2 separate regions of the Homo sapiens genome follow, and region 1 is linked to region 2. Evidence: promoter capture Hi-C in 16 types of primary human blood cells and fetal thymus (Javierre and others, 2016). All regions are on one chromosome and are shown on one strand. The core of a region is centred on a gene start or on the middle of the fragment in contact, and the rest is flanking DNA. Distances in the headings are between cores, read along the strand shown. Region 1 overlaps TMC3-AS1 (TMC3 antisense RNA 1). Region 2 holds the start of CFAP161 (cilia and flagella associated protein 161).

Region 1 (3,368 bases), core at 420-2,919, 260 kb after region 2:
TGGATGGAGGCTTGAGTGAATTATCACAGCACAGAAAAATGTTATTTTCTCTGGACAATTTAAAAACAGTGGTGACCACTTTCTACTTTTGGTTTCCCCATGATGGCAAAAAGAAATACAATTGGACTCTAAGATGATGGTGACTCATGATGCCTGCTCCCTTCATTGCTGCAGATCTTTGGTTCTTATTGTCTATTATCTACCTTGTCCCTTCCTTCTATAATCTCCCCAGCTCCTGATATCTAAAGGCAGGACATCTCAACTCTCTATCTTAAACTTAAACCAGTTGCCCATCTTCCTGCCATTCAGCTTTTCAATGTAACCGTCAAGTACCTGCAGCCTTTCTTTTCTGGTTCTGCATTGGATGATTGATGTTTCATTGACCTTGTGGAGGAAAGAGGGTACAGGTAAGCAGTAAAGACTCCAGGATACCAGTGATGACATTATATGATGCTAAAGAGTGTGTGTATGTGCGCGCGCGTGTGTGTGTGTAATGTGCACAGCCCTTTTTTACTTTTGAGACTCCGAGACCCAGTGATAAGTGAATTGAGCAAGGCTGCACTAAGAAGACAACTGCTGCCATCTTGGGCTTGAAGAGATTCATCTTAGAATACTGAAGGGAGAATTTTCCCCTCCACCTTTACAATCCCTGATTTGGAAAGATCTTCTCCTGTGATAATTAACTGGTCCCAGGCGTTGCCCTACTCAGCAGCAATGGATGGATAGGAGGGAAACCTGGAGATAATAATGGCAGCTTTCAGGGAATCCCATCCTGTGAAGACGTTACCTTCAAGACCAGAAAGAAAAGTTATGCTCTCGTCATTTTCCTGCATGTTGGCCCTACTACTCAGCCCTTTACCCCTACCCCATCCTTCCCAACAATGAGGAGGTGTTGAGTAACCTTGTTACCTTGTTAAAGAGACTGAATGATGCTGCCACCTTTGTCCTATAAGGAACTACTTGGTTTGAATTTCTCCAAGTCTATGCCAAACTCCTGAATGAGTTTGGCCCGCCTTTGGTTTATACTGTTTAGCCAGCCCTGCTCTAACTAGGCTCCTGTCCGCCTGAGAAATATGTCCCTTTCCAGACACCTGTTTGTCCTCTCCATAGCCCTGGCATGACCTGGGCAATGTGACACCCAGAACATGCCTGGATCTGTACCTTATCACTAACCAAATCCATGTAGGAATACTAACTATTTGAATTCCTTAGCTCAGTATCTGAGTCTGAATATGCATAGATTAATATTTCCCAAATAATCTGATTCCATTAGCGATAATTTGAGAAATATCTTGGGACAGTTGGAAAGACTTCAGACCTTTTCCTTAGTCAAACTGCAATGCTTTCAAAAGTTTTCTAGCACAGTTTGGCCTGCAAACAAATTTAGTTCATTTCAGTAGGAGGTAACAAAGCTTTCTGTACCTGCCTTCTTCTGGTGTAGTTCTTGTTTGCACTTTATTTCTCTGCAATGTCATGGGGGGAAGCCAGGTAATAAATAGAGACAGATAGTAAACAGACTCCTAAGTATTTAATGGGGTTGGTCGGATTTACGGCTCCAGTGTCGTAACACAGAATTACCCAATTCCTTCAGCTGCTTAGTAAGTTTCACATTATCACACAAATCAAGGGTGACTCTCTTAAAGTTGTGGTGATCATCTGAATGCTTTTCTTCATTAGATGTCAAAGTAGGAGAAAGACAACTATTTTGGAAGGTTCTCAGACGTGAAACACTGGAAGATATCTGTGAATCTACCTCCCACTCTCTATCACCATGCCCAGGAATGTATTTCCTTTGTTATATTGACACTGGCAACTCCCAGATCTGATTGCCTTGATGTAGCCTGGAGCTACGAGAGGTCCTTAGAATCTGTTCTTGCCAGTGGCCCCTTTGCAGAATTAATAAAAAATCTTATGCACAGTAATAGCAAAGCTTTGCTCCCTCTACTTGACTTTTGGGAAAGCTTGGCTCATTGGTAAACATGTAATGTTCTTTATATTAAAACAGAGTTCTGATACTCTCAGAGTTGGGGCAAATTGTTAGCCTTTCACCAAAACTTGAAAGGCTTTCTACGTTAAGATCCAAGCTCCTGCCTTATAAATATTCTGAATTACAGTCAATTTTGGAATACTCTTGTGGCAGAGAAAGTAACATGCACCAAATAGTCCAGGCTTGTGTTGAGTTAGAGCCATGCGACAAGTTCTGGCCAATAATATATGTGTGCGAGTGATACATGCCCCTTCTGACAGAAGCAGTGAAAAATTTATGAACAATATTTTAGTTTTCTTTCCTCTACTATGGCAACTTAAGTTGTGTGAGCCAGATAATGGAGTTTCAGGATGATGGTTCCTACTCAGCCTGGGTCCCTGAGTGACTGTATGGAATAAAGCTCTGCCGACACTTGTTAGACATGACCATGTGTAACAAATAAGCCTTTGTTAAGCCACTGACCATTTGGAGTAATCTGTTACAACTGCAGAACAGAGCATATCCTGATTAACAGAATTCCTACTTCCCAAATTTCTGCTTCCTTTCCTGGCTGCATAATTTGTCCAAGCTGTCTGTCATCTACATACTCCTTTACCCTATTTATGGCTTATACTATCTCATCTGACCTTCATGGTCTATCCTAAACGTCATCTCCTTCCCAAGGATCTCCGGTTTCCAGTTGGATGGGATACCCTCCTCTTCTCTGCTAATAGAAAGAGTAGTATACCTCTCTTAAGGCAATCATCTCATTTGCTTCTCTTCCTCATCCATTTAACTTAGAGCTCCTGGAAGGTGAAGACCATGTTTGATTCACCCAAACACCCCAAGGCCCCAGCTGAACATTTTGTGGTAGCTACAGGTGGATATTATTTAGTTTGAATTGAGTTTTCTCCTGAGGTTAGCAATGCGTAGGCCAATGTAGACAGCAATGTGAAATGATTTTAAATAAGTTATCTGCCTGAAACATAGCAACAGGGAGAGAAGAAAACAAAAAAAAAAACCCTTTACATGAGTAAGTGTAATTCTCAGAAAATAAGAGAAATAGCATATCAGAAAAAGACATAGGAAGCAAAAGTGATGCTTGCTGAAGAACATCAGAATGGGAATTAGGAAACAAACTTCTAGATTTGACTCCTTTGAAAACTAATTCTGTGATCTCTCTGGAACTCAGGTTCTTCATCTTGTACGTGGGATCAGAGGCTGGACGATAAATTAATTAAGGTATTTCATTCTGGAATTTTACTTACAGAAACCCCAGGTGCTGAGATGTTTTCCAGGACTAGGATGAAGTCTCCATCTTGTGGCTAAATTAAGTTCTGCAGTCACTCAACATTATGAACGTCAAGATCCAAGTCAATTTAGTGGAGCAGCGTAGATTAGG
Region 2 (3,355 bases), core at 812-3,311:
AGAGGTTGCAGTGAGCCGAGATTGTGCTGCTGTACTCCAGCCAGGTTGATAGAGTGAGACTCTGTCTTGGAAGAAAAAGAAATAAGGGAGTCCAGAGGTAGTAGGATGGCATATTTAAAATATTGAAAGAAAGAAAAAAACGCTATCAACAAAGAATCATGTATCCAGAAAAAGCATCTTATTAAGGTAAGCAAAAACCAAGAGAATGTGTTGCTAGCAGACCTGATTTATAAGAAATATGGAAGGAAGTTATTCAGGTTGAAAACAACACAAAGCAGTAATTTGTGTTCATAGAAAAATACCATAGAGCACCAATAAAGATATTTCTTCTCCTGAGTGATTTAAAGCAATTGTATAAAACACTATGTATAATTGTATTATTGGGTCTATTATATATAGAAATGTAATATACTTGTCAAAAATAGCACTAAGGAAGTAGGTGGGAGCAAAGCTGTATCAGTGTAAGGACTTACTGAATGACCCAATCATTAGAACCTTGTTAAAAATGTAGAGACTAGAGCTGCTTTGTTTTATTCTTGATTTTATGAGGAATATGAAAAATACTTAAAAGGAAAAACAAACAAACATGACTTTGGAGTCGGAAAGTTTGGACTGAGTCCTTTCTTTGAGCAACTTTTAGCAGTTTGAATTTAGACTGCTAGCTTCTTTGAGTCTCAGTTTCTGAATTTATCAAATGCAGTTAGTGGTATACTATCTGATCTAACTGCTTTGTCCTATGTGTCCTTCAGAAGTATCCTCGAATGTGGTGATATATTGACAGAGCTGGTGGATTCATCAGAATGTGGGAATGTTCCTATTTTTATTCTACACTTCAGCCTGCCAGTTCAAATCCTTCCCAGTTCAGCTCCAAAGCAGCCCCTCTCCCATCACTCAAAGGCCATCCAATTCCCATTCTCACAGTTCCTCAAGACAGAAAGGATCCTTCAACTCCATGGCCCTTCATCAGCATATATATATATATATATATATATATATATATATATATATATATATATGTATTTTTTTTTAAATTGGAGATGGGGTCTCACTATGTTGCCCAGGCTGGTCTAGAACTCCTGGGCTCAAGTGATCCTCCTGCCTCGGCTTCCCAAAGTGCTGGATTATAGGCTTGAGCCACCACGCCAGCCCATCAGCACATCTTTAATTGCATTTTTCCACAGTCTTCCTTAAGTAATTCGTTTTCATGAACTATCTTTTCTTTTAGACTGGGTTTGCTGAAGGGAGCGGAGGCTCCTGTCTTCCATTTCAGTCATGTCTTACTAGACACTAAATAGAGGTAAATTACTGAATGCATTCAATCTGCATCAAGCCTCCGGTAGTCCTACAGTAACTGGTATCCCTCCCCTCCCCAGAAAATAATATTTTGTTTTATTAATGCTGGCTACAGCAGAGTCTGGTTTTCTTAAGAGTTCCTGCAAATCACAGGTTCGTCCTTTAACTTTGAGACCCAGGGAAGGAGGGAGCAAGGGAGGGAGGGAGGGAGGATGCTGTCAAGTCCGCAAAAATATGGACAACCTCAGAAACCTATAAACAGAAATATACTAACATGGTATATTTCTTACTTTTAAGGCCCTGAAATTATTAATTTTCCTTTCTTCTTTCTATGCGATTTTGGTTTCCAAATGTGTACATTGAGCAGGTATTGTTTTATGATTAGGGCGAAATTGCTGCTGCTGCTGCTGCTGCTGCTGCTGCTGATTACAAAAAATAGGCTGCAAGCAAGCCGTGCTTCCATTTAAAAGCTCCTCTTTGTTGCCTCGACAAGCAAGGGGTACTCGATAGCACTTTTCGGTTAGATTCTAATAGAAAGAAAGCTTTAAATTTCTCTCTCGGAAGCACTTTGTCAGCCAGGGTTTTCCCTCTCGCCCACCCTGCAGTTAAGGAAATCTAAGAGGTGGAAGTGGGGCGGGCTGGAGGGCCACAGACAGCCGCTGACCCAGACGCCCCATCTCCCGCCCCAGGGCGAGGGTGCGCGCTGTCGCTTATTGGCCAGCAGGGTCCCAGACCTTGACCAATCGCCTGGGGCCGGGTCGTCATGGCGACGCGCCACGCTAACGCATGGTGTCGGAGGGAGGCCCACTTGCTGAACAGCAGGGAGCGATGGCGCAGAACGTGTATGGTCCGGGAGTCCGGATAGGCAACTGGAATGAGGATGTCTACCTGGAGGAGGTACGCAGGGTGTGGCCAGGCGCAGACCCGCAGCTCAGGAACTCCCAGACCCTGCTCTAAGTTCAGTCTCCTACTTTGAGCGCCTCAAGCCTCCTCTCTCTCCCAGCATACAGCGAATACCTCTAAAATCCCCCACTTCTCTAAACTCCCAAGGAATCTCACCTGCCGAACTGCAAACCCAGGTCTCACTGACCTCTACTCCGAGCACCCTGACTTTTCTTTCTCTGGGTCCCTTGGCCTCCCAAAGTCAGATGCCTTGACTCTCAAGCCCCTGGCCTGTGTCTCCCGCTTAGTCTAGAGCCCCACTAAGTCCCCCGTATTCCTTAGAGTCTTACAGTCTCAGGCTGCGGGCCAGGTGAGGACACAGGTTCTAGGTAGAAATAATATCCCTCCCCACTCCAACCCTGCCACGCTTGCCCTCTTAAATGACCCTGAGTATTCCTTTTATTGACGTTGTACTCACTCACTGCCTCGTATTCTCCCAAGGGTGGTCTTAACAAGGCTTTGAGCCATTCGTATACGGGTCAGATTGGGGAGGGGTGAACTTTCTAGTGTCAGTCATCATACGGTCAAGGGAAACCCCAGCAGGGGAGACATGGCCTCCAAATGTCATTTAGGATGGTATCTGGCTGGAGTAATTACTGGTGATGTTTCTTTTTCTTTGTTTTGCCTTTCTCATTTTTCTAAACATTCTATAATGTAGTAAAAATATTAAAGTAGTGCTAAAAACGTTCCATCATTCCAATTATGCTCACATCTCTTTTTTTGTACTCAAATTTTGCTTTTTCAACTTGGAAGAGCTTCTGACCTAAAAGTTATTAATACTAACATCTATATTATTCAGGGCTACTTTTGTTGATTTTCTGTTTAGGAGCTCATGAAAGACTTCTTAGAGAAGAGAGACAAGGGGAAACTTCTCATACAGAGAAGTAGAAGACTAAAACAGAATCTCTTGAGACCGGTAACTTTTTTTTTTTTTATTACACTTTAAGTTTTAGGGTACATGTGCACAACGTGCAGGTTTGTTACATATGTATACATATGCTATGTTGGTGTGCTGCACCCATTAACTCGTCATTTAACATTAGGTATATCTCCTAATGCTATCCCTCTCCCCTCCCCCCACCCCACAACAGGCCCCAGTGTGCGATGTTCCCCTTCCTGT

The links. Contacts are between HindIII fragments. The CHiCAGO score rates a contact against its expected background, and 5 or more counts as called.
Region 1: a fragment that was not itself captured here is called in contact with the fragment with the promoter of CFAP161 in region 2 in 1 of 17 cell types (naive CD4 T cells); the score reaches 5.0 in naive CD4 T cells.

What each region holds. Positions count from the first base shown.
Region 1 is chr15:81,397,557-81,400,924 of GRCh38, forward strand. The region is part of intron 6 of TMC3-AS1 (TMC3 antisense RNA 1); the gene reads left to right. Among named protein-coding and RNA genes, the nearest start is that of TMC3, 25 kb to the left of the region's middle. The HindIII fragment of the contact is 518 bases long and covers 1,411-1,928 here.
Region 2 is chr15:81,132,209-81,135,563 of GRCh38, forward strand. CFAP161 (cilia and flagella associated protein 161) reads left to right here and starts at 2,062. Exons shown (of 7, transcript NM_173528.4): 1 at 2,062-2,190; 2 at 3,062-3,151. The coding sequence starts at 2,122. The HindIII fragment of the contact is 5,504 bases long and covers 1,834-3,355 here.